7 separate regions of the Homo sapiens genome follow, and regions 1, 3, 4, 5, 6 and 7 are each linked to region 2. Evidence: promoter capture Hi-C in 16 types of primary human blood cells and fetal thymus (Javierre and others, 2016). All regions are on one chromosome and are shown on one strand. The core of a region is centred on a gene start or on the middle of the fragment in contact, and the rest is flanking DNA. Distances in the headings are between cores, read along the strand shown. Region 1 overlaps KLHL32 (kelch like family member 32). Region 2 holds the start of UFL1-AS1 (UFL1 antisense RNA 1). Region 3 overlaps MANEA-DT (MANEA divergent transcript). Region 4 overlaps KLHL32 (kelch like family member 32). Region 5 has its middle 29 kb from the start of MANEA-DT. Region 6 overlaps KLHL32 (kelch like family member 32). Region 7 overlaps MANEA (mannosidase endo-alpha).

The links. The method cuts DNA at HindIII sites, captures the fragments that hold promoters and counts their contacts. A CHiCAGO score of 5 or more calls a contact.
Region 1: a contact is called between a fragment that was not itself captured here and the fragment with the promoter of UFL1-AS1 in region 2, in 1 of 17 cell types (activated CD4 T cells). The highest score is 5.1, in activated CD4 T cells.
Region 3: a fragment that was not itself captured here is called in contact with the fragment with the promoter of UFL1-AS1 in region 2 in 1 of 17 cell types (naive CD8 T cells); the score reaches 5.2 in naive CD8 T cells.
Region 4: a fragment that was not itself captured here is called in contact with the fragment with the promoter of UFL1-AS1 in region 2 in 12 of 17 cell types (total B cells, activated CD4 T cells, M0 macrophages and 9 more); the score reaches 12.7 in total B cells.
Region 5: a contact is called between a fragment that was not itself captured here and the fragment with the promoter of UFL1-AS1 in region 2, in 1 of 17 cell types (activated CD4 T cells). The highest score is 5.9, in activated CD4 T cells.
Region 6: a fragment that was not itself captured here is called in contact with the fragment with the promoter of UFL1-AS1 in region 2 in 2 of 17 cell types (total B cells and naive B cells); the score reaches 6.0 in total B cells.
Region 7: a contact is called between a fragment that was not itself captured here and the fragment with the promoter of UFL1-AS1 in region 2, in 7 of 17 cell types (total B cells, non-activated CD4 T cells, total CD4 T cells and 4 more). The highest score is 9.1, in total B cells.

The regions. Positions count from the first base shown.
Region 1 is chr6:97,077,658-97,081,518 of GRCh38, forward strand. The region is part of intron 5 of KLHL32 (kelch like family member 32); the gene reads left to right. Among named protein-coding and RNA genes, the nearest start is that of KLHL32, 150 kb to the left of the region's middle. The HindIII fragment of the contact is 2,524 bases long and covers 309-2,832 here.
Region 2 is chr6:96,519,744-96,523,345 of GRCh38, forward strand. UFL1-AS1 (UFL1 antisense RNA 1) reads right to left here and starts at 1,971. Exons shown (of 4, transcript XR_007059687.1): 1 at 1-1,971. It overlaps UFL1 (UFM1 specific ligase 1), which reads left to right and starts at 2,063. Exons shown (of 19, transcript NM_015323.5): 1 at 2,063-2,207; 2 at 3,403-3,548. The coding sequence starts at 2,131. RefSeq lists enhancers at 1-779, 780-1,651, 1,652-2,523, 1,668-1,857, 2,524-3,395. The HindIII fragment of the contact is 5,811 bases long and covers 1-3,602 here.
Region 3 is chr6:95,564,364-95,567,910 of GRCh38, forward strand. It overlaps MANEA-DT (MANEA divergent transcript), which reads right to left. Exons shown (of 3, transcript NR_104136.1): 2 at 2,865-2,950. Among named protein-coding and RNA genes, the nearest start is that of MANEA-DT, 11 kb to the right of the region's middle. The HindIII fragment of the contact is 4,478 bases long and covers 1-3,547 here.
Region 4 is chr6:97,059,329-97,062,988 of GRCh38, forward strand. All of the region lies in intron 4 of KLHL32 (kelch like family member 32), which reads left to right. Among named protein-coding and RNA genes, the nearest start is that of KLHL32, 140 kb to the left of the region's middle. The HindIII fragment of the contact is 4,952 bases long and covers 1-3,660 here.
Region 5 is chr6:95,546,275-95,549,851 of GRCh38, forward strand. No RefSeq gene overlaps it. Among named protein-coding and RNA genes, the nearest start is that of MANEA-DT, 29 kb to the right of the region's middle. RefSeq lists an enhancer at 2,746-3,362. The HindIII fragment of the contact is 1,437 bases long and covers 1,608-3,044 here.
Region 6 is chr6:97,039,717-97,043,460 of GRCh38, forward strand. It overlaps KLHL32 (kelch like family member 32), which reads left to right. Exons shown (of 11, transcript NM_052904.4): 4 at 1,776-1,883. Among named protein-coding and RNA genes, the nearest start is that of KLHL32, 120 kb to the left of the region's middle. The HindIII fragment of the contact is 7,360 bases long and covers 1-3,744 here.
Region 7 is chr6:95,589,642-95,593,577 of GRCh38, forward strand. All of the region lies in intron 2 of MANEA (mannosidase endo-alpha), which reads left to right. Among named protein-coding and RNA genes, the nearest start is that of MANEA, 14 kb to the left of the region's middle. The HindIII fragment of the contact is 1,877 bases long and covers 1,044-2,920 here.

The DNA of each region.
Region 1 (3,861 bases), core at 321-2,820, 560 kb after region 2:
CTTAAGAACACTTTTCTCAGTTAATTGTGGGAGAGCTGTTTATTTTGCCCAACTGTTAAGTTGTATCTATAACCAAGCTATTATTTCCTCTTTTCATGTAAAGTCATAGATGTGCCTCACAACTGTTTGCTTTTTTTTCATTCTTGATCCAACAAATACTTCTCTGTTGCAATCTATGAGAAAGACATTATGATTGACATTGTGCAGAATACAAAAAGCATACGATGCGAAATCTACTTTTTACTAGTTTACTAGGTACATTTTTAATAGTTTGAAGATAAGCTACATGCATGAATAGCTTAGTGACAAGCTTATGTGTATGTGATAGGAAACTTGAAGTGGGAGGCATTAGAATTCATTCAGTGATAAAGAGCCTTATACTTACCGTATCCTACTTGCTACTTGGTCCTTATAAGCAGCTGATACAATTTTTAAATTTCACTTTGACTTAACATTGTTAAAAATCAAACCATACTGATTTTTATGTAGAGTGGTTTCTCAGGCTGTTTGGAATAGATTTGGGAGTGGTTTTAAAAAGAGAATTTCTTGACTTACAGAGCCAAGGATGGCCTTTCATTTAGAGAAATTTTCAAATTGTGATATAAAATCAACATTTTATATAAGAACTTCATGTATGCTACTACATCATGGGCATAGAACCACTATGTCTCCTGCCTATCTTTATCTATAGTAAAGTATCGACATGGGGTAATTTAGGTGACATTTCGAAGGAGAGTTGTCTAAGTGAAGTGCATCAATAATTGGAAATGAAAGATTATAATTACATTGATGAAACAAAGCATTGTTAAAATAGCCACATCTGTTGAGTGTTATTACCCGGAAAAATCTGTAATCCTATTCAATTTGGACATCTTAGAGGGGGAAAACTTGGGAAATCAAAATGAAATTACTCTTGTTTTAACCTTGAGAGGAGTTTATTATCTTTAACCCAAGTCATAGTTTTCTATAGTGATAGTACATGATGCTTATTTTTCTTTCACACGTCAGTGGCATTCTCAGAACTAGATGAGACAGCAAGAGAAATAGGTGTTTTTAAGGCTTTGTTTTGAAGGGTGCCTCATCTAGTTTTAAGAATGTCAAAACACCTATTTTTAAGATGACTGCATCCACTGTAGACTAACTCCATTATCTACCCCACAAACAGATATCATATAATTATGCATAATGTGTATAATTTCTGTGTCAGAGGCATGATTAAACTGCAGTGTGGATGGGCAAGGGGTTATTGACAAGCCAGGGAGCCACGGCGGTAGCCAAAACTAAGACTATGTTTCAGAAATTCAGATGATTCTCAGCTTGTATCATCATTGGCACACAAGACACAGCTCTTGAGCGTGACATCCCTAAGCTAGGCTGTGGGTTATGTGTGGTAAATATGCAGACTCTAGGCATAAGGCTGCATGTTTTTCTCTCATTCAAGAAGGTATAGTAGAATACAAGTGAGTCTGGGTGGCATTATTTCATAGGCTTAAATCTACTCTAAATTATAAACAAAGTACTTCTTGTATGAACTTTGGTCATTTATTAGTAGTTCCTGCATAATTGAGATATTGAGAGACACCGCAAAGGCCATGGCCACTCTGCTGCAGATGAGACCCACCAGGGGACATCACCGAGGCCAAGACTCCTCCTTCTCTTGCTGCCTTCACTGGCTTGGGAAGGGTGGGCTGAAAGGCCACAGGATCAACACTGTCCTCAAACTGCCCTCCTTCCTCCCATTCATGTCCTAACTGCTCGATAATTGCCTTGCAAATGTAACTACACTTGAATATAAACCAAAATAAAACAATATTTGCCTTTCCCATATTTTTACCCCTACCGTATTTGGTAGTTAATCTGGGGAATAACCATTGAAGGAACCAATTAGGGAAAGAGGCCACACAGAAAGACTGAGTTTGGGGAATATATAAAGTTTAAAAATTATTGAACTTGAAAAACTGGTGTTTATTCCATAGCTAGTGTGGTATTGAGGACACATTTTATGGCTCCTCTTCTCTTATTTAACTTGTCATTCACACTATGAGAAACAAATAGAAGGAATAAGAGAAGCCAAATAGCCCTAAACCAAAGGAAAATAAATACTATTTAAAAATATTCCCTAAAGAACAACAATGTATGCACCATAATTCTGAATAGAAACTAAATTTCAAGTGAGAAGCAGTGTGACAGAAATGAAACCTTTTTAGAAAAAAAAAAGAGTAAGATTTTCTTTTACTCAAGAGAGTTTCTTGTTGCTGAGCTGTAATTTCCATTCAAAACCACTACCGCTACCTGGATACTTACATTTTTAAGTCACAGAATGCAGGAGAGCTGAGACAATCTCGTAATTAGGAAAAAGTATCATTTGAAAAGATATTAAAATCTTTTGATCTAAGTAGCCAATTGATAGAGGAAATAATTCTCTGTTGGACTGTAAAAGAAATTTGGGGTGGATTGATTTTTTTGTCACAGAAGAATGATTATATTATACTTGTTCAGTAACACTTTCAACTCTAGTCATTATTACCAATTTTCCCACGCAGAAAACAGGATGACCACTGGCTTTGCCTTTGTGTGTACGTGTCAGAAGGCCAGAAAGAGAAAGGGACAATCAGGAAGGCCTGTGAGATATGAAAAATGGCCTGATTTGGACAAGGTTCAGAATTGGATAGGCATATTGGAAAGACATGGGCTATTCTGTTTTTGCCTAATTATAAGTAAACAGAAAAAGCTCATGGGTATTCTTTCATTAAACACACATGTATTAAGCATCTGCTCCCTACTGGATACCAGGGACACACAAGGCATGAGACACAATCTTTGCTTCCGAGAAGCTTAGATTTGGTAGAGGGAGATAGATCTGCAGTTAAAGGGTGCTTGCAGTGACAAGTGATGTGCTAGACATATTTGCAGAGGGCAGAGTAGAAGTACACAGGAAGAGGTGGTCAATTTGACCTGACCCAGGGAAGTTGAAAAGATGATATGGTTTCTTCATTCAGCAAGTGTGGCTTGAACGTACCTGGCATTGTTCTAGGCTCTGGGGATACAGTGGTGAACAAACCAGCAGCTCCTTCCTCCCATGGAGCTTACTGGGGGATCAGGGGAGGAGACAAGCACATTATAAACAAGTAGGCAAATAAATGCTGAAGATAATTATAGGTGGTGACAAGCTCTAAAACAAATAAGATGGAGAAATGTGATTGACGGTGACATGGAGAGGAAGGGAGATGTGCTGTATAGGATATTCAGATGAAACAAGGGAAACACAATTCCTATCCCATAGGAATTTTGCTCATGCTGCTTCTTTGGCTTGGAGCATCTCCCTGAAATCCTACCATCATCCTGTTTTAAAATGTAGATTTTGTTATTATTGAGTTATGGTGAGGCCAACAGATCAGGAGACAATTACCATTGAAAACATGATTTGTTTCTGCTCCAATAAGAGGGCACAGACCACACCTCCAGGACTGCATAGGGAAGCCCCAGGGTTGGTGAGGAGGTAGAAGGAGTGAGGGGGGAAAAGTGGACTAGAGTCTTTATAGTGGTATCTGCAGGAAGGAAGTGGGCAAAGCAGGGTTAGCAGGCTTATGATTGGCTAGTTTGAAAGTTTCCATGGGTTCACGAGTGTAGGGGCTGGCTCTGGTTGTCTGGTACTTGGCCCTGGGATGATGGGGACAGAGGACTATTGCCTCCTGGAGTGTAGAAGCCACATAGAGGAGGTGATTTAGAGTATGGGCTCTGGATTGGTTAGTTTGCATATGAAAGCCGTTTGCTCTCTCAAAGAATTGGCTAGCCCTGGGAGGGGCAGTCTATTCTCAGTCAGTGAAACCCCAGATGCCAGAACATGGAGAATACAGAAAT
Region 2 (3,602 bases), core at 721-3,220:
TTTGTAGGTACATAGTAGGTGTATATATTTATGGAGTACATGAAATATTTTGATGCAGGCATACAGCATGTAATTATCACATCAGGGTAAATGTGGTATCCATTACCTCAAGCATTTCCTTTGTGTTACAAACAATCCACTTGTACTTTGTTTTTTAAAATGTACAATTGAATTATTATTGACTGTACTTCCGGAAAGGTGTCCCAATCCAGACCCCAAGAGAAGGTTTTTGGATTTCATACAAGAAAGAATTGAAAGCAAATCCATAAAGTGAAGCAAGTTTATAAAGAAAGCAAAGGAAAAAAAAAATGGCTATTCCATAGGCAGAGCAACGGCTTGAGCTGCTGGCCTAAGGATACCTATAGTTATTTCTTGATTACAGCTAAACAAGGGGTGGATTATTCACAAGTTTTCCAAGGAAAGGTGTAGGCAATTCCCAGGGCTGAGAGTTCCTCCCCATTTTAGACCCATATAAGGTAACTTCCAGACGTTGCCATGGCATCTGTACACTGTCATGGCACTGGTGGGGGTGTCTTTTAACATGATAATGAATTATAATTAGCATATAATGAGCAGTGAAGACGACCAGAGGTCACTGTATTCATCATCTTGGTTTCTGGTGGGTTTTGGTTGGCTTCACTACTGCAACCTGTTTTATCGGCAAGGTCTTTATGACTTGTTTTTCCTGCCTGTGGACCTTCTATCTCACTCTGTGACTAACCTCCTGGGAATGCAGCCCAGTAGGTTTCAGCCTTATTTTACCCAGCCCCTATTCAAGATGGAGTTGCTCTAGTTCAAACGCCTCTGACAACTAGTCACCCTGCTGTGCTATCAAATACTTGATATTATTCATTCTTTCTAACTGGAATAATATTTTTTAAATAGTAAAGAGTGAGATACATGAACTCCAAATATCTGAGACAGGTCACAATCAACTCAGAAAGTTTATTTAGCCAAAGTTAAGAACTTGCATCCATGACATGGCACAGATCCTGACAACATGCGCCCAAGGTGGCTGGGGCACAGCTTGGTTTTACACATTTTAGGGAGACATGGGGCAGCAATCAATATATGTAAGATAAACATTGGTCTGATCTGGAAAAGCGGGGCAACTCCAAGTGGGGAGGAAGTTCCAAGTCATAGGTAGATAACAGACAGTTGCATTCTCTTATGAGCCTCTCCAAATGAGGCAATCAGACATGCATTTATCTCAGTGAGCAGAGGGGTGACTTTGAATAGAATGGGAGGCAGGATTCCCTAAGCAGTTCCCAGTATGACTTTTCCCTTTAGCTTAGTGATTTGGGGGTCCCATGATTTATTTTCAATTCATAAGATATAAAAAAGATATAAAAAAGAAAGGTACACCTGAGTAAATATCTACTCAACAGGGAAGCAGGATACATGTTCTCTTTGCTTTCCCTGTTTCCTTGATAGCCATGCACCTTATGTTTATATTCCTCATTATTTGATGAAGTTAATCATTGCAATAAGAGAAATACGAAAGACTCTAGAACTCTAGACACGAAAGCAATTATACAGCCTTTATGACACGCAAATTTATTCACTCTGTAAAAAAAAAGTAATTACTTTCGGTAGGGTCTCCCATGTATCTTCCAAAAGGCAGACTGCTCTGGGTGCATGTAAAAATTAACACGATACCCTATACAAAAGGGAATGCTCAGAGTTAACAGCTAGAGAAGAGAGGCGCCAATCTTAGACACAGGCTTATTCCTCCGCACCCTCCCCCAAAACAAATGGAGGACAGAAGAAAAAAGAAAAGTAGTTAATACAACTATTACTCTACGGAAATATTAGGGGTAGCGCAAACAAAGTTCTGACACTAAACTTTACTGAGCCCTGCATCCTGCCCACGACCCCCCCAGAAACACCTACGCACCACTCTCCTAGCCGCCGCAGCCCCGCCAGTCTCGCCGGGAGGAACCCCCAGCGCCGCGGTACAACCACGGCACTTCCGCCCGCCCCCCGCGCCTCGGGCGCAAGCGTTTGGTGTGTCTGCGTCGGGGGCGGAGCCTCTTGTCCCTCTGCGCGGCCCGTTCCGCCTCTCTTCTCCCACCGCCTGTCGGCTGACGTGTCTGCAGTTCCTCCGCGTCTACTGCGAGTCAGGCCGTGATGGCGGACGCCTGGGAAGAGATTAGGCGGTTGGCGGCCGACTTCCAGCGGGCGCAGTTCGCCGAGGCCACGCAGAGGTGCCCGACCCTCCCTCTCCTTTGTGGAGCCCAAATTAGGCCGTGGGCGGACACGCCTGTATCTGGGACTTTAGACCCGCGGCCCTGCATCCCGGGTCTTCTCGCTGCTTGTCACCATTCTCTCCTCCTCCCTCTGTCCCGAGCCTGGATCGCAGTTCCAAGTCCAAGGCTCGGCGGGAAAGTCCTCAGCCTAGGACGCCCTGGAGCCCCCCAGCCCAGCTGCAGCGAAATGCTGGCGCGCCCCGCCCCACCATGGACGGGGCCGGTGATTTCGAGCTGCCTTTATTGAGCATTTCTTTGACCCTCCCTCACCCACCAACCACCAAATCACTGTGACATCTTGGCTATTATACACTTCCTGATCTAGAATGAGCTCGAAAGGAGAGGCTAACCCCCGCCCCCAGTACAGTACTTGGCAAATAGTATGTTGATCCTTAAAACTTCTTGCCCTTTTATCTCTCGTAACAGACCTAGGGCTAGACCCCTGACCCCATCTGTTATTCAGGGCACTGACATTTTCTACAAGCCCACTAACCTTTGGAGGATGTGTCCAGAGGAGCCTAACTCTGCTTTTTAAAAATAACGCTAATAGAAGCCTTTCTATTCTTTGACTACTTCCTACCTGCGATGTTTTATTCCTTTTGAGCCGGAAGACAGCAATCCCCTTATGCTGTATTTTCTACCACTGATAGCAAACTCGTAACTGCATGGGTAACTAACGTGGGTAAAAGTTATGGTTTCACTAGGCCACATCCCCTGCCTGCTTGCAGACCATGTGTGTAAGTGAGGCAATTATGCACTTAATTTAAAAGAAAATTCTGATTAAACTGGAAATTAGGGCATTTTTTGTTTTGTTTTGTTTTGTTTTTTCTTTTTTCCTACCTAAATAAATGTCTTCAATTTTCCCTTCAGATTTGAAGATTGGAAGCAGGCCTGTAAGAGACAACAGACTTGAAATTTGTGATGGGATGATGTGTACCAATTAAATAAATGATTTAAGCATATGTAAACCTACTTACTCTGAAAGGTTTTTTTTTAACTTATTGAATCAGTTAGTGAAAAATACAGATATTGTGATGTAGAAGTTAGTGACTAAACAAACTTTTTAAAAGCCTGTTTTCATACATTGTATTAATTTTATTGAGCGCCAATGTCTCAAGTGGACTTTTGAAACAACTTTTTTTCTTTCCCTCAGGTTGTCCGAGCGGAACTGCATTGAGATTGTTAATAAATTGATTGCTCAGAAACAGCTAGAAGTAGTTCATACACTCGATGGAAAGGAATATATTACTCCAGCCCAAATTAGTAAAGAAATGAGAGATGAGCTACATGTCCGAGGTGGTAGGTAATTCTTTAGTGTTTTTTTTTTTCTTGGATTTTTGGAAGGGGCAAAAC
Region 3 (3,547 bases), core at 346-2,845, 960 kb before region 2:
TGTCATATGAGAGAGCGCCTAGACAGAAGAGAGTCTATTTAAGATCTAGACCAAGAAAGAGAAGTCTACAGGGGAATTGTGGAGTTTAAGAAAAGTAAGAGAAATAATATTAGGACCCAATATAATATGTTTAGAACATGTGGGTGTGCACAGAGGATTGAGTGCAGTAAGCGCTTTACATGGATGCCTAATGTCAAATTGGAGAATGTGAGGTCAAGGAAACTAGAGGGAGAAAATGTTCAAGATGGATGGAGCTGAGTATAGAGCTGAATATAGCCAAGATATCAAGTATGGTATAGACTGAAAATATATTTAGTGCAAGGAAATCACTGGAGACTTTGTGAAAAGCAATTCCTGAGGAGTGCTGGGGGCAGTAACAATTGTACAGTAGGTTTGAGAAGTCAGAGAAGGTGAGAAAATGTTTCCCATGCCTTGCCAGCAACTCCATTAGCCTATATATCTAGAATGAACAATATAGAGTCACCTTTGATTCTTTTCTCTCATTTGTCTTCTGCTGCTCATTCTAATTGCACAATAACTCTTGGTTCTCTCTGGCTTCTCCTTGCCATTACCTCCAAAAGAGCCACTCTTGTTCAATCCTGCTTTGATACTTTCACACTACTACTCCATTCTTGTTTATAGAAAATATTCCATAATTAGTTATTATTTAATACCCAGTATAAATAGTACTTGTGTGAGTAACCGCCCCCTCCAAATAACTTTTCTCTGAACTCTTACAACACTTCATTGGAACCCTTTTAAATAACACTCATGACTTTTTGCTTTGAGTGAAGCCATCTACATGCATGTCTTATCCCCCTTCATAGACTGTTAACTTCATGAGGGAAGAAGTCTTATATTTTTATATTGTACATATATCCTAAAACAGATAATCTAAGTACATATTTTGGTTCTGCACAATTTTGGCCTATTGGACCTTGAGCAAGTCTTATCTAGGTCCTCTGAATATTTTTCCTTCCAAAATGTGATAATTTTCTATGCTGCCTACTTAATATTAAAGATTGTTTTCAGAATTTATAAGAGTAATGTAATTGAAAATGTTTTGAGAGTGATAAAATATAAAAGAAACTATTTTTATATTTTTACTATGATTGCAGGAGTTAGTAGTAGTACTGTTATGATTATTATGTACTGAGAATTGCCACTCTATTTAGACATGCAGCAATTCAGCCAATCAATACTTTAAAGGTTAATTTCTTCAATTTAGAGCATAACACCTACAGTGAAGTCTGCCATTTATTTTGATGAATAATTCATGGAACACATATTTTACTTAGAGATTGTTTCTTTCCCTAGGTGTTTATACTAGGAAATATAGCAACTGAATTTGATCAAGTGCTTGAGCCTAATTGATCAATTAATTTTTTTTTTACCTTTTAAAGTGCAATATTAATGTGTGCTTGTCGTACAAATACAAACCATTCTTAAAAGTATATATAAAAACTGAAACCCACTTTCTATGAAAAACACTGTTAAAGTGTTTGGTATGTTTATTTCTAAAAATTTAGACACATATACATTTGTTTTTTGTTGTTGATGTTCTCTCTCTCTCTCTCCTCATTCCTGTATGTATACATATTTGTATATGCCTATATATTTACATAATATAATTTATATTAAACGTACTTACAGATACTGGGGTAGGTGGAATAATGGGCCCCCAAATATGTACACATCCTATTGCCCAAAACCTGTGACTATGTTACTTTACATGACAAGGGAGCTTTGCACATGTGGTTGAGGTTAAAGATTTTGAGATGGGTTGGTTATCCTGGATTATTCAGTTGGACACAATATAATCTGATATCCTTAAATGTGAAAGAGGAAAGCAGATGAGTGGGTCGGATAAATGTGATATGAGAAGAATTGGATCTGACATTGCTGGCTTTGACAATGGAGGCATAGAGCCATGAGCCAGATAACATGGAGGCCCCTAGGAACTGGAAACTGCCTTCAATATATAGCCAGCAAGAAAACATATACCTCAGTTATACAACTGAAATCTGCCAAAAAAAATAATTGAACAAGCAAGGAAACAATCTCCCCAAGAACCTCCAGTAAGCAAGGCAACCCTGATGACACCTTGATTTTAGCATAGAGAGACCCATGTCTGACTTCTGACCTACAGAACTGTGAGATAATAAATTTGCATTGCTTAAGCCACTTAACTTGTGGTAATTTATTATGCCAACCATATAAAATTGATACAGATATATCTTTACATAGCTATCTACATAATTTTGCAAATTCATTCTTCTTAAAAACTATATATGGACATCTTTTCATGTCATTTACAAAGAGAGATCACTGTGTGCAGTTTTTTCTCATTATGGGTATAATTTTGTAGGAAAAATAGCTAAATATAGAATAGCTCACTCAAAGAGTAGTGCAGCCAAATTTCCCTTCAAGAAGGTTCTACCAATTAGTATTCCCACCAATAAAATGTGAGAGTATACATATTCCACATCCTGGCTACAACTGGATATTATCAGTCATCTTAATGCCATGGCCTTTGTCCTTTCAGGACTCAAAACTACTTTTATAGATATTGAGTACCTTTATTTCTTCTTTTTATGACTCTCCCATGTATTCTAATGAGACATTAGAGATCTACACAGGATTTTATAAGACTGTCCTCTTGCCCTAGTAGATTTTCTTACTAAGATGAATTGGCAATATAAAAGTTACTAATTCAGAAAATATTTAAGGACAATTTTTAATAAAAAGGTCCATACTCCTAGGTCTCAAAGATTTGTGCTTAAACTCAACTGACTAGGCAGCTAACTCTACACGTTCAAATGGACACTTCCTGCACCACGGTAGATAAAGTTACCTACACTTACCTCAAGTTCAAATTCACTCCTCAGTCTGTTGCTACCATGATCACCTCTTCCACTCCATGTTCTGAGAGTACTAGTTTCTAAGCGACCTAAATGAAAACAGAAAGGTGTCTTGGGATAATTTATGAACACCTAATAGCTAATATGCACTGAGATAAGCTAAGTCTCCAATCAAGTCTTAGAAAAGTCTTTCATGGAGAATATACTTAAAATTATTCTTGCTTATCAAGTGTTCCCAAATTCCTCCTAGATCTTCCTTTAGTTTTTAAACTACAAAATATTTTTAATTTGCTAAAACTATAAAATGCATATACCCACCACTCAGGTAAAATTTAGCCCTATTTGCCTGAGATACAAAGTTATTTTGTTTCCCTGAATATTTTTTAGTTACCTCTTGTAAAACTTTGTATGCCTAATGGGTTCTTGATATTATCATTCACACTATTGCCTCTGCAGCTGATACTATTATGATGACTATTTTGGTTAGTGTGAGTACATGTTTGATTAATGACCCATTCTTTAATTTATATATTTTTATTGGTCTGTTCAGGTTCCCCCTTTTTTTTTTTTTTTTTTTTTTTTTGAGACGGAGTCTTGCACTATCACCCAGGCTGGAGTGCAGTGGTGCCATCTCGGCTCACTGCAACCTCCGCCTCCCCAGTTCAAGTGATTCTCCTGCCTCAGCA
Region 4 (3,660 bases), core at 1,064-3,563, 540 kb after region 2:
TAAAACTGGAGAAAAGTTTTTAACAGCAGGTTGGGGCTACATGGTGAGGTTTTCCAAATACAAGCCTCAAAAGTTTGAATTCTCTGATTCATAGAGAACTACTGAATTCTAGCCAGTATTGCTCAGATGGAGCACTTCAACAGGCATATTTATGAACATTTCCCAATATGATCACAACATTTAGAAACTGGAATTCATGTGTTTTATTATCCTTACCTGAACTATGTTTTTCTTTCTTAAAAATAAACTTCAGATGTCAGATATAGATGTGCAGTGCATGAGTCAATTTAGAAAATTCTTTTCCTTTAAATGGCTGCCACCTTGTGGATAAAAAGTCCTTAGTGCAGTGGTTTTGAAACTAAAACTAGATTGGTAGAAATTTCTCATAGCTAGATAGATCTTGTGTTTCATGTTCCATCTGTGAGAATTCTGTCATAAATAACTTTATGCAAAACATTTTATGTGTGTTGAATATATGATCATTTAACAGCTATTTATGCTGTTGTATCCAGTTCATTTGATGATTATAAATTCAAGATTCTGATAATTTGCCATTCTGTAATACTATACAGGAAAAAAAAAATACCAAAGAAACAAACTATAAAGAAGGGAGGAAATGTAATCATTTATTCTCATAAATGGTATTAGACCACTCTAATTTGCAGTTGTACAAGCGCTTGTTTTGCTTGCAAAAGCGTGTTGTTCATGTGCACACATGGTATGTGTGTTTACTAAAGACCTTAGTTGTCTGATTTTAACATGCTCAAATCCTTCAGTCCACTGTACACATAGACCAAGAAGCAGGTAATTAAAAAATCTCCTTATGCAAGAAATGAAGAAGATAGCTTTGAAGATCTGAAGATACAAAATTTTCTGAAGATGCCAACTCACTTGATCACAGGCAGGAGAAAAAAAAAGGTCACACTGAGACTTACCATGGCTGTTAAAGACAGTCCCTACCAGCCACCAATCCAAGAGGCTAGGTATAAGGGAGAGGGAAAATAAAGAGAAAAAGAAGACAGAATTGAGAGAGTGGACATCTGATGATCCAGGAGGATGAGCTGAAGAAGGAGGGGCAGGGATGCCCTGGGGACTGTGGGGTGTCCCTACTCCCACCGCTCAGTCCCAGCTCCACCCTCCCAGAGCCCCCATGTGAGGTGTGGGCACTGACTGAGGTGGCCCACGTCATCATGCTCTATACAGAATCTCACCTCAGGTCCCATTCTCCTCCTCTTTCACCGGATTCTGGCCCCATATTCTGCCTGGAGACCAGGAGTCCCAGTCTTATTGCAGTTTAGAGGGTCTTCATTGGAGATCATGCAAATTCTCCTGTCTGCTACCAACCCTGCTTGGATTGGTGACCAGAGGACATGTTGGCACACAGTATTCAAGAGTGCCTCCTACCAGGAGGGTGATTGGGCCACCTCATGACTGAATTCTGACATAATTTCTCCTACCAGGTACCCATCCCCTTCTCCTGCACTTGTGGGTTTTACACTATTACTTTGTCACACCATTCTGTGTCACCCTAAATACAGCCACTGGTCGGTTCTTATCCCCACCAAAATGAGTGTAGAGTTTCAGCATTTGGAATGGGAATCAGTCGTGGCCCTCTCCTTATTCATATGACCTTGCCTGCTACAAATTGCAGGAGATGTTCCTGGGCCAGACCCAAGTAATGAGATGTGATCATCTCATTACTTGGTGAGGTGAGACTAGAGGTGACCTCTCTGCTAGCACTGTCCAACATCCCTCATTCGAGAACAGCCCCTTGTGTTCCACCACCTGGAGGTCAGGCGGGGAAAGAATCCTCTATACAGGTGGTTCTGTGAACAAGAAACATTCATGCCCCCACCTAAGTTTGCTCCTGGTTGCATCAAAACCTGTTTGCAAATCTGGAGAAGCCCCAGCTCTACAGGTGAGCTCCACCCAAGCAGGTGAGCGTCACTGGGGGTAGAGGCAATGCCCAACCTAGTTTGGCTTCTTTTAGGGTTTCCTTTCCCCCCACTTCCCCCAGCCCGCCCCATCCCGCCCCTGGATTCTGGACCACTTGGCTTTATGTATCTAGCATTTTCTTGATCTCTTGTTATTAAGACATTTTGTCTTGTCCACTGTTTATGCCTCTAGCTGTGATATGCTCCTCCAGACTGATGAGTGACTGGATGTGTCAGGCCACTCACATTAGCTCCTATTCCCACCCTGTGTGCTTTCAGATCTTGGGGAACATCTCTTCCTTCCTGCAGGTGGTCCTTGAGTCACCCTTCTTCCTATCTGTCCTGGTTTGAGTGTCAGACTACATGTTGATGGGTATGTTTCTGAAATACCTAAATATAATGCTTGGCAGAAGTTAAATGCAGCTGTCTTAGTTGTTCTCCATAAACCTGTGTGTTTGAGATCCCTTTTTTTCTGCAGAGGTTGTTCTTTTGGCCAGTCCTTCGAGGCAGGTGACAGATAAATTCACCACACTGTAAATCATGAGGAGACTTGACCTTTGATTTCATTGCTGGCCAAACACAAATTCCCTGGAAAAATATATTCGAACAGTCAGTCACCAAAGAGCAACAAAGCTGAATCAAAAGCCTCTGGTACAGTGAGGTTTGCAAACACTGGTTCTGTTTCCATAAGTGAGAACAGCTGTCCTGGTAGGGTTTCTTTCTCCAACCCTTTAAGAGCACTTAGAGATTTTCTGTGCTAAAGCATATTTTAGAAAAACTTATGTTATAATGAGTGGAAGGAAAAAACTACAAAACAAAAAATAAAAAAAGACAAAAACAATCGCCGTATGGGTTTTTCATGTGCAGGCTTCTGGAAGTCAGCCTGCTGGACATGTAACACATGCTATGGAATATTCATCTTGTCTCTCTGTGATCACTGTCTTTGTGTTTGCTATTAGTGAGCCTTGGAGGTTATCATAAATACCAGTTGTGTGAAATGAGCGCAACTGACAGGATTTAAAGGCTAAACCAACCTTTCTAATCCATCTATTCCCCATTCTCCTCCTTAGGCCATGCCTCTTCTGCAAGACTATACAACATCCTTGCTCCTCTGATGGGAGCTGCACTAATTTCGTGAATGTCAGTCAAAGCCTCCTTCCTTGAGGAGTTGGCGAAAGACGGGTTTCTCTTTCTGACTAGATGGAAAAGGAGATATAAAGATTTTTCAGAATAAGATGAGTGTTGGTATTTTTGCCACATGTGCTTAACTTTTTCACTTCTTTACTTTGCCACTTAGAAATATAGAGTCCTTTTTTCTTTCTTATAAAATTAGTTAAAATTGATTCTGAATAAAAAACATGTGTAGAGATCAATTAATTCATTAGCATTTTAATTAAGTAACTTCATGAATATTGAGCAACAGCTATGTGTGCTGAACATTGTTCTAAGTGCTGGGGATACAAAATAGACTAAGTCCCTGCTCTCCTGAAACTTATACTGAGCAGAGAAAAATTAGCAAATAGGCAAAAAGATATATAATGTGAGGTGGTAAGCACTATGGTGAAGAATAAAACAAAGTTAGGAGCTAGGGAATGATGGCTGTTCAGGGGTGGGTTACTGTTCTACATAGGATGGTCAGGGAAGGTATCTCAGGTAAGACGTTATCTGAAGTATATGAGGGAGTGGCCCAGGCAGAGCAAACAACTAGTTGTAAACACCAAGGTGC
Region 5 (3,577 bases), core at 1,076-3,575, 970 kb before region 2:
TGAAAACTCACAGCCCCTCTAACCTGAGGCAGATGTTGTGTTCCGCAAAACAAATGAGCCAGTCAAAACATTCCTCATTTGTCTTAAAACTACTGTTTCCATGGAAACAGTCCTATGAGAATCTAAGATCTTTCTGAAGCAGTCTTGATATGCAGGCTTAATAGTAACTCTTCATTCACAAAAGCTTTATACATACATATGTATGTATGTATGTATCTATATATGTGGTTAAAGGTGATGTGTTAATCACCTTTTTAAAATATCTGTATTTATATATTGTTTTCATTTACCACTATCCTTTTGTCTAACCATTTCTAATTTATGAAACACAACACAAACAGAAAGGTGCACAAAATATTAAATACAGTAAAATATAGTATGTATATATAAATCATCATGCATCCATCCCCCAGATTGAGAAACTGAACACTGTCATCACCTCCAAAGCCTCCAGGCTGTTACTTCCCAAACTAAGACTCCTCAATATTCCTTAGTCTTGTGCCTGTCTTTAACTTTTATAATAATCACAACTACATATTGTTTCAGTTTTATCACTAAGTACACATTGCTAAACAATACAGTTGGGTCTTTCCTATTTCAAATTTTTTATAAATACTACCTACTGATTTGTGTGTTTTTGATTTTTTTTTTTGCTCAACATTCTCTAAGATTGTGCAGTGGCCATTTGCTTTTCATTACTATGCAGTATTCTATTATATAAAAATGTCACAATTTATTTAATTCAGTCTCTTATTAATGGTTATTTGTTTTATTTCAAGTTAGGGTAACACAAAGAGTGCTCCTTATAATATTCTTTGCATTTCTTTAATGCAAGCATTATCACTTTTGTTTTGTTTTGTTTTTGTTTGTTTGTTTTAAACAAATAGAGTAATGGATAAAGAGAGAAAATGTCATTTACTTAATATCATGATGCTGGTAGAATTGGACTTTAAACCTAATTCTGAAGTCTCTGTGACTCCAGAGTCCATGTTCTCAATTTCTTCAATAGTTCTTGTAATAAGAAGCACGTTTTAATGAAAATAGTGACAATTGAGATGAAGACAATTGACAAATTCAACCAGTTCTAAGAATACAGATTCAATATGATTTTGTGATTGAGGCAGTTGCTGAAGGAGATGGAAAAATCAATAGTAACATTGATTAAGCACCTGGCTTGAGTAAGTGATTGGTGGTGTCATTTAGTGAAATACTAAATACAGAAAAATGACCAGGGTTGGCAGATCAGGAATTTAGATGGACTTGAACACACTGCATTTCGTACCTGCAAGACACCACTTGACTAATAGTAATAGCTAGCATTATTGAAAACTAGCAATATGCCAGGAATTGTTCTGAAGTATTTACATGCATTAATTTGATTCTCACAACAAACCTATGAGGCAGATCCTATTATTGTGTCCATTTTATAGATGAGGAAAGAAAACTGAGGGAAACAAAAGCTTAGTAGAACCTCAATGTTACAAAGCTAGTAAATGAGATGTTTACTTAAGCAGCCACTTCTAAAATTCATATTCTTAAGCATAAAATATGTAAAGTCTTTTGATAAAATGTCATGGGCAATAGGGAGTGAGCTATACAGAGGCTGAAGCTTAGGTAAGAGATCTGGGCTGGAATATAAATCTGAAAGTATTTACATGTCATTGAATATATGTAATTATTAATGTAATATATGTAATCAATTACATCATTAATTATGAGCCATAGGTGATTTTGCCCCCTAGGAGACATTTGGCAGTGTTTGAAGACATTTTGTTTGTCATAACTGGGGTGGGTGCTAATAGTATCTAGTCTGGGGGGTGGGGCAGGGAATTTGCTAAACATCCTACAATGCACATGATTGGCCCTCACCACAAGAAATTATCCTGTTCAAAATGTTAAATTGAGAAACCCTGTCCTACACAGATTAATCATTGGATGGAGGCCCACCTAGGAAGGAAGAGTGATGCGGACTAGGAAACTCTTCAGCTGAGACTTGTCTACTGACAGCACTTACAGCAGCTCTGGTAATAAGTTCTTTATTCCTAACTAGGAATGTATCAGTGTGTCACAGCATCTGTCATGATTATGGAAGGGAGATAAAGAAACACAGCCAGATGGGTCCCTGACGCAGGGGGAACCCTGCTTTCAACCACCTGCTGGGTTCAACAGTGTATGAAGTCATGCCTTTCCATTTCCTGCAATTCTGATGCTTTGACATCTCAGGGTTTTGCTGATCCTGGAAAGCCTACCCCTTCCAGGACTAGCCATCTCCTGGCTCCTATGTAGCCATATCCTACATAGTAAATGACTGGCCCAGGACTGTGAGATTCATATGCAAACCAACAATGCAGAGCTTTCACACCCCACAACCTCCTCTAGGAGGCTGTCACACTCAGGGCCACTATGCGCTGCCCTAATCACTCCAGAGTCAAATACTAGACAACTAGGGACAGTTCCTATACCCCAGAGTCTGCTGGGATTATTTAAACAAGCCAATTCTAAACCTGTTTACCTTGCTGCAGAAACCAAAATAAAGGCTCTTGCTCACGCTCTCCATCACCCCTCAAATCCTTCTGCCTCCTGACTGAATCTGGTGCTTCCCAGCATGGCCTTGTGTGGCATGGCATACCCCTTCCTCTTGGGAACAAACTGTCTATACAATGGCCAGTGTCTCCTGATTTTTGGCGTCACAATACCTGAATAATAATGAAACCTACATTTTAAACTGACTAGGTTGTTTGAATGATTAATTTATTTCTGTTGGGGTTTTATTTGTACGTATGTCTTTTATTTCTTCTTTTTGTATTGAAAGCATTTAAAAACTCTCTGCACGAGATTTGGTGGTCGAGTGGGTGCTATATTTACTATATTAATGCAAATTTTCATTTTTTAAAAATCTGTTTAATCTCCATGATAAAAAGTATATCCACACATGGTATTTGTTATAAACATTATAGATGCACTGTCATTGTCTTATTCACTATCTACCTATTGCTAATACATTCCACCTCTCTGATTTTGAGTCAGATAGTTTATGCGCATAAAGCTTCTACCAAATATTTAATGAAGTATTGTCATTTGTATTGCTTTGTAAAGAATCTGTAATCCCCTTTGATCTGTGTTAATGAGTCATGCATTGTTTATTTCCAAATAATTACTTTTTAACTTTAGCTATTAATGGCTATTTTGTATTGTGATCTAATAACATGGCGTGTACAACTTCAGCTTTTCTTTTTGTAACTGATTTAACATTTTTCTGGCCTATTAGATGACCAGTTTTTACAAAAGATCCATTGGCTTTTAAAATAAAGTGTATATTCTGTTTATTTGGAATATACTTGATCTCTTTATTTTAAAAATCTATAAATTAGAATAGTATATAGCCTTTACTTTTTTACTTTTTTCTTACATGAGTATTCAAAACCTGGGAGATGTTTCTTCAAAGCTAAATTTTTTTCTTTTCTAACTTCATTTTGTAAAATTGTATAGCACAGCTTTTACTTTAAGTATTTTGTAGCTATGTTATTTTTCATATAAAGGTTTATGATTCTAATATCTTCATTGTGGATATATCATT
Region 6 (3,744 bases), core at 906-3,405, 520 kb after region 2:
AGCTGAGGTAGGAGAATCACTTGAACCTGGGAGGCAAAGGTTGCAGTGAGCTGAGATTGTGCCACTGCACTCCAGCCTGGGTGACAGAGTAAGACTCCATCTCAAAAAACAAACAAACAAACAAACAAAAAACAAAGAAAGAAAAGAAAATCGCTCGAAGAGAATAATTTGAATGTTTTAAGCATAAAGAAAAGATATTTTAAGGTGATAGATATCTCAAATACACTGATTTGGCAATTAAAAATTAAGACTATATTAAATTATCATATGTACCCCTGAAATATGTACATTCCTTAGGCATTGATAAAATTTAAATAAATAAATAAAATTGCTAAAAGATGAATATTGATACATTGGCAAAAGTAAAAAAAAAATCACATTTTTCAAATTAAAAAAATTCAGCATGAACTAAATACCACATAGCATAGTGAGGTTTTTTTGGTTTTGTTTTTTATGACTATAAAGTTAGCTAAACTGCAGAATCTCAGGGAACAGTTCCCACAAAACTTCTCTCATTATCAGTAAACAAAATTGAATTCTCTTTATATTTCTTAAGTCAAAGATTAAAGGTGCACAAATTAGCATGGGGTTGTATTTTTTTTTTCCTTTTAAAATGCATTTGTTTTAATTTGTCAAGTTTTTGTCTTTTTAATTTCAAATTTTCATTTGACATACTGATTTGCAGTAAATTGGCCATTTGGAGAATTGGTTGGGGGCAAATTCACTTGCACTGAATAGCTGAGTGGTTCTCAAATTCAAGTGGGCATGAGAGTCACCTGGAGGGCCTATTACAGCACAGATTGCTGGGCCCTGCTTGGAGTATCAGTTTCAGTAAATCTGCATTGGGGCCCTGAGAGTCTGTACTCAGACACGTTCCCAGGTGATCCTGATGTCGCTGGTCCAAGGGCTACACTTTGAGAACAACTGAAACGGAGTGTGTGATACATGGCTTTGTATCCCCACCCGAATCTCATCTTAAATTGTAATCCCCATAGTCCCTATAATCCCCACATGTCAAGGGAGAGACCAGATGGAGGGTAATTGGATCATGGGGGCGATTTCCCCCATGCTGTTCTCATGATAGTGAGTGAGTTCTCACAAGATCTGATGGTTTTATAAAGGGCTCTTCCCCTTCCCTCGGCACTTCTCCTTTCTGCTGCCTTGTGAAAAAGGTGCCTTGCTTCGCCTTCACCTTCGCCTTCGCCTTCCACCATTATTGTAAGTTTCCTGAGGCCTCCCCAGTCATTCTGAACTGTGAGTCAATTAAACCTCTTTCCTTTATAAGTCACCTAGTCTCAGGCAGTTCTTTATAGCATATGAAAATGAACTAATACAATGGCAGATGAGAGGAACTAGCTGTTTCATTGGACTGAGGCAGAAAAAAGCAGAGAAGTCAGAAGATGAAGGCTTTTCATGTCCTATTGGGCAGGATGTTTGGCATTGCTGCATATAACTTGGTAGCAATGAGAATCCAGGACCAAGAGAAAGCGTTCGGTGGGCCTAAATACTATCACCTCAAAATGAGACTGTGTATTACATATAGAAGTACTGTATATGGTGAGGAATGCCATCCTGTGTGTGTTGTTATTGCAACTGTTCAGACATCAAAATGATTTGCAGTGGTTTGTGTGAATGACACTTTCTAGAAGCATTTCAAAAATCAAAATCAATTATTAATTTGTAAAACTTTTTTTTCCCCTAGTCTCTCTAGAATTTTGTCTTGCTCCCTTGCTGTCAAAGTCTCATAACTGTCTTTCTCCCTTTCCTCACCTCAGGCAATGTTCAGTCTTTGTATGGTGGAAAGTGGAGCTGATGAGGTTAATTTGCACGGTGTGACCAGCCTTGGCTTAAAGCAGGCTCTGGAGTTTGCATACACAGGACAGGTATGGTATTAAATGTGATCTGTAAAGTTTAACATTTCAACTACATCTAACCAAAGGAGATTATCCTTGAGGTATGAGATTTAGTTATTGTTCTTGTTACTCATTTTGATGTTAAAAATAAGATTCACATCCTCTTAATTTTATGACTAAAGTTATGGAAAGGTAAGTAAAGCAATTTGATTTTTTAATATGATCCAGTGAACATAGTATTTTAAATTTAACTCAGTGCTTGCTGGTGTAATTTTTTGAATATCTTAAAGAACTATCGTAAGGGAAAGAGTTTGCAAGATAATGGATTCTCATTGTTATCACTGAAGCTCGGTGACTCAATCATGGCTTTATTGCCTTAAAAACAAGACAAAAAATTTAGATCCCCAAAAATTTATGTCCAACGTCTTGGTACCATGTCCTCCACATATCTCAGAGTCAGAATTGAAGGCATTTAGATTAGTAGATTGTGATGGTTTGAAATCCTAATACATTAATGACCAAAGTTGTTATAGGATTTATAGGACATCAGAGGATATCCATTTACATTTGAGAACTACTCAAATAAATCAATTCAAATACAGACTGGATGTTTAGCTCCCCTTTTATAAATTGTTGTTCTTTAACAACATTTCATCCAACGTGGATTTAGTATCTTCTATGCTAAAATGAAAGTGTCTTCTCTTGAGATGCTCACATCCTAGTAAGAGAAAGACAGGCAAATACATGATTAAAATCCTCACTGGTATTGGAGTTATAACAGAAGCAGAATACAAAACAGAGTGGGAGAAGGATGCATGTGGTCAGGTGTGGCTATCAGTACACAATTTTACAGATAGGGTGGTATTTGTGTCTTGAAGAATGTGTGGGAGCTCATTTTTCTACTGAATTTTATTTTTGTTTAATTTTATTCTTAATTAGCAAATAATAATTGTATATACTTATGTGATGTAAATGTGATGTTCTGATATATGTTTACAATGTGGAATGATTAAATCAGGCTAATTAACAAATTTATCACCTCACCTACCTACCTATTTTTTTTGTGGTGAAAACATTTAAAATGCACTCTTCTAGCAATGTTGAACTATACAATGCATTATTATTTATTATAGTTACCATTCTGTGAAGTAGATCACTACAGCTTATTCCTGCTGTCTAACTGAAACTATATACCCTTTGATCAACATCTCCCATTAGTCCATCCACCCCTGCTACAGTTTGGATGTTTGTCCTCTCCAAATCTCATGTTGAAATTTGATCCCCAGTGTTGGAGGTCGGGTCTGTAGGTGGATGTTGGGGTCATGTTGATTGATTCTTCGTGAAAAGGCTGATGCTCTCCCTCAGGGTGTGAGTGAGTTCTCACTGTTAATTCCTGAAAAAGCTATTTATTAAAAAGAGGCTGGCACCTCCTTCCCACTCTCGTGCTTCCTCTCTTACTATGTGATCTTGGCACATGCCAGCTCCGCTTCTCCTCTGCCATGAGTGGAAACAGCCTGAAACCCTCACCAGAAGCAGATGCTGGAGCTATGTTTCTTGTTTAGCCTGCAGAACCATAAGCCAAATAAACCTCTTTCTTATATAAGTTACCCAATGTCAGGTATTCCTTTATAACAACTCCAAATGGACTAAGAAAACACCCTCCCCTAGCCTTTGGTAACCATCATTCTACTTGCTACTTCTATGAGTTCAACTTTTTTAGATTCAGCATATAAGTGAGATCATGAAGTATTTGTCTTTCTGTGCCTTGCTTATTTCACTTAACATAATGTCCTCAAAGTTCATCCATGTCATTGCAAATGACAGGATTTATCTGCTTCTTAAAGCTAAATAGCAGTATGTTGTGTATACATACCATCTTTTCTTTATTCAT
Region 7 (3,936 bases), core at 732-3,231, 930 kb before region 2:
TATCATGTATTCTATCCTCTTGTATTGCTGTATTACAACTCTAAAAGTAACAGATGAATGCCTTCTTTTTTTTATACAGTTTACTAAAACTTTAGTAGACTGGTCAGAAAATAGCCCCCATTTTCTGATGTGGACATCGTAATTCCCACAATCTGTGAATATATTATTTTATTTGGCAAAAGGGGAATTAGGGTTGCAGGTGCAAAAGATTGCTAATCATCTGAACTTGAGATGGCATTATCCTTCATTATTTGGGTACAGCTAATCTAGTCACATAAGTCCTTATAAATAGAAGAAGAGGGAAAAGAGAGTCAGAGGGATGCACGAGAGACTCGACCCCCTGTTGCTATCTTTGAAGATGGAACAAGAAGTTCATGAGCCAAAGAATGTGGTAGCCTCTACAAGCTTGAATGGCAAGGAAAGGGATTCTTTCCTAGAGCCTCCAGAAAGGAATGTCATCCAGTCCAATACCTGGCCTTGATCTTAGCATATTAAGACCCATGTCAACACTCCTGACATGCAAAACTGTAAGGTAATAAATTTACGTTGTTTTAAGCAACTAAATTTGTGATAGTTTGTTATGGCAAAATAGAGAACTGCTACATTTAGCAAAACATAATGTACTCTATGACTTTAAAATTATCTTCCCATTGTTTCAGTTTAGCACTAAATATTTATTGATTTTCCATGACGTTCCAAGCTTGTGCTAGATTCTAGGGACATAAAAATGAGCAAGTCACATTTCCCAGTTCCTTTGTTTTCATCATTGTTGCTTTAAAAACACTGGATGGATTTCAACATTAGAATATTTCCTGAAAGTATGACATATTTGTTTTAGTAAGGTTACAATTCTTACTTCTGCATCTCCTGCCTTTAAAAATTTATACATAAAAGTAGAAGTCACAATGAGATGAATTAGACACATAAAGTTTAAATGTACCTAATAACATCTAATATGATGTCATAAAATTTCCTTTTATAATAACTATTTGCATTAAGTTTAAAGGTTATATTTATAACTGTAGAGTGGTGATATTCCATAAAGCTTTCATATTGCTATAGATGCCCAACCTTTGGCTACAAAAAAAATTTGAAAGTATTCATTGCAAGGAGACAGTCTACTTGCAAATAATATATACTTAATGTGTAATGTAAGGTCTTCACCACTGATATTCCCTATGTTTCCCTCCCATAGTTTGCTATTGTCGTAATTCTGTCACATAAGAAATGGTATTTTACTATCATTGCTGTAGGCCAGAGGTTGGCAAGCATTTTCTGTAAAGGACTGCCTAATATATATTTTTGATTTTGTGAGTCCCTCACTCTCTCTCTTTGCAACCACTCAGCTCTATCCTTATAGTGTGAAAATGGTTATAAGCAATAGATAGACAAATATATAGATGAATTGGCCTGTAAAAGGCAAGATTTGGCCGATGGGTCATAGTTTGCTGATCACTCTTTTCAATAATCAGTTGTTTTTCACAGTGATTAAAAGTAAGAATGTTTTTTACATTTATTCCATTTCTACTGTTCCCCATCCATATTTTAATGTAGATCCAAGTGTATGTCTAATATCATATTCTTTCTCTCTTAAAAATTTCTTTTATCTTGTTTTACTGGTCTCCTTGCAATGAATATTTTCAAATTTTGTTTGTAGCCTTTATTTTGAAAGATGTTTCATCACCTATGGAATTCTCAATGGGCAGGTTTTAGGGGATTGTTTTCTTTTGGAATTTTGAAAATGTATTCCATTTCTTTTTTTCTTCTTTTTCTTCAGTCTTTCATGGTTTCTGATGAGTAGTCTGCCGTAATTTAAAAAAATCTTTTTATATCCTCATTTTCTTGGATGGATATGTTTTGTTGTTGCTGTTGTTGTTTTCTGGCTGCATTTAATTTTTTTCTTTTTTTCTTTTTTCTATTTTGTTTTTTAGCAGTCTAAACATGGTATGGTTACTTGTTACTCCTGTTATTTTTTGTTATTTATCCTTCTTGGTGTTCTCTGAATTTTTAATCTGTTGCTTTGTGTCTTTTATTAATTTTGCTAAATTCTTAGTGATTATTGTTATTGTTTTATGAGATGGAGTCCCACCCTGTCGCCCAGGCTGGAGTGCAGTGGCCTGATCTCAGCTCACTGTCACTGCAACCTCTGCCTCCTGGGTTCAAGCAATTCTCCTGCCTCACCCTCCCAAGTAGCTGGGACTACAGATGTGCTCCACCACGCGTAGCTAATTTTTGTACTTTTAGTAGAGACAAGGTTTCACCATGTTGTCCAGTATGGTCTCGATCTCCTGAGCTCGTTATCCACCTGCCTGGGCCTCCCAAAGTGCTAGGATTACAGGCGTCAGCCACCGTGTCCAGCCTGATTATTTTTTCAAATAAACCTCCTACTTCTGGGTTTCCAATTACATGTGTACTAGAACTTTGATATTTATCTCGCAACTGTTAAATGCATTGTTCTATTGTTTTCCCCAGTCTTTTTTCTCATTATGGTAATTTGGATAAGGTAATTTCTTTTGACTTGCCTTGAAGTTTCCTGATTATCTCCTCAGCTCTGTTAATGAGCCTATTAAAGGCATTAATTCATCTTTTTAAGTAGTCTTTCATTCCTGGCATTTCTGTTTTATTTGTTCTTATAGTTCCCATATCTCTGCTGAAATTTGCCAGATCTTGTGTGTTAGCTACTTTGTCCATTAGATCCTTTAAGATATTCATTACAGTAATTTTATATTCTCTCTCTGATGATTCCAACGTATCTCATTTGTGAGTCTGTTTCTATTGATTGCTTTGTTTCTTGTCAGTGAATTGTTTTTCTTGCTTTTTTTTCTGTACCTTGTAAAATTTTGTTAAAAGTATGTCACCCTGGGTAAGATAGTGAAAATTGTGTTACGTCTAGAAATGAGCTTGCCTTTTTTTCTCTTAAAGCTTTAGTTTGAAAGAATGTTTGAGATGTTCAAAAGAAGCTCTAAATTTCCTATGAACACATAACAAGTTTTCTGGGGCTCAAGGTATCCAAATTTATCCATCATTATACTGTCTTCTTGTTATTAAGTGTTATTTATAATCACTTTTTAGGTGTTTTACTCTGCATGATGCATTCTCTCATTTGTGCTTTTTAAAACAGGCCTTATCCTACATTTTACAGATGTGGAAACTTAAGTAAAATAACTTACCTAAAGATACTCATCTATCAAATAACAGAATAAGAACTCGATTCTCTAGGCCTATCTGATTTTTATACCCTATATTCTTAACTGTTATCCTATTTGAATGCATCACTTTACTAACAACAAAAAAAATTGACTATCAATTATATTGAAGGTCCTGTAATAAGTGGCATGGAGGGGTGACATGAGCAACATGACATGAGTTTTTGCATTTAGTTTGCTAATATTTCAAGAATGGACTTCAAAGAGCATCCTAGAGTTTGCTAAGCAATTAGGATGACAGAAATACAGAGTAATAGATTTTACTTATAAGTGATACTCAGTTGGCTTATTTTATAGACACTTCTCTGGTTACTATCAAGGATTCACTGCCATTGTAAATTCCCAACACTCCTCAGAAGTACGACAATCACTGGCGTGGTTCCCAGGCTAGTATTTATTCAGTGCCACAGTCCAGAAGACACTGTATAATGATTAATTGGGCTGTGGATCACAGTATAGGGATAGAATTAGATATCTGGAAGTCATAATTGATGCAATAAAGAAGCTGAAATATAACAACATTGTAAGGGAGAAGAAAGAACATTCCTCCAAAGCCATAGAGTATACTTGCAAAGAGGATAAAAGAGGAAGAGAAATTACTAGACCAAGAATGGGATGGTTAATTTATTAGGAGAATCAGAATAATATGGCAGCGCTATCCAGTAGAATTTTCTGTGATGATGAAAATATTCTCTATCTGTGCTGCCTAAAACAGTAGATACATAGTCAT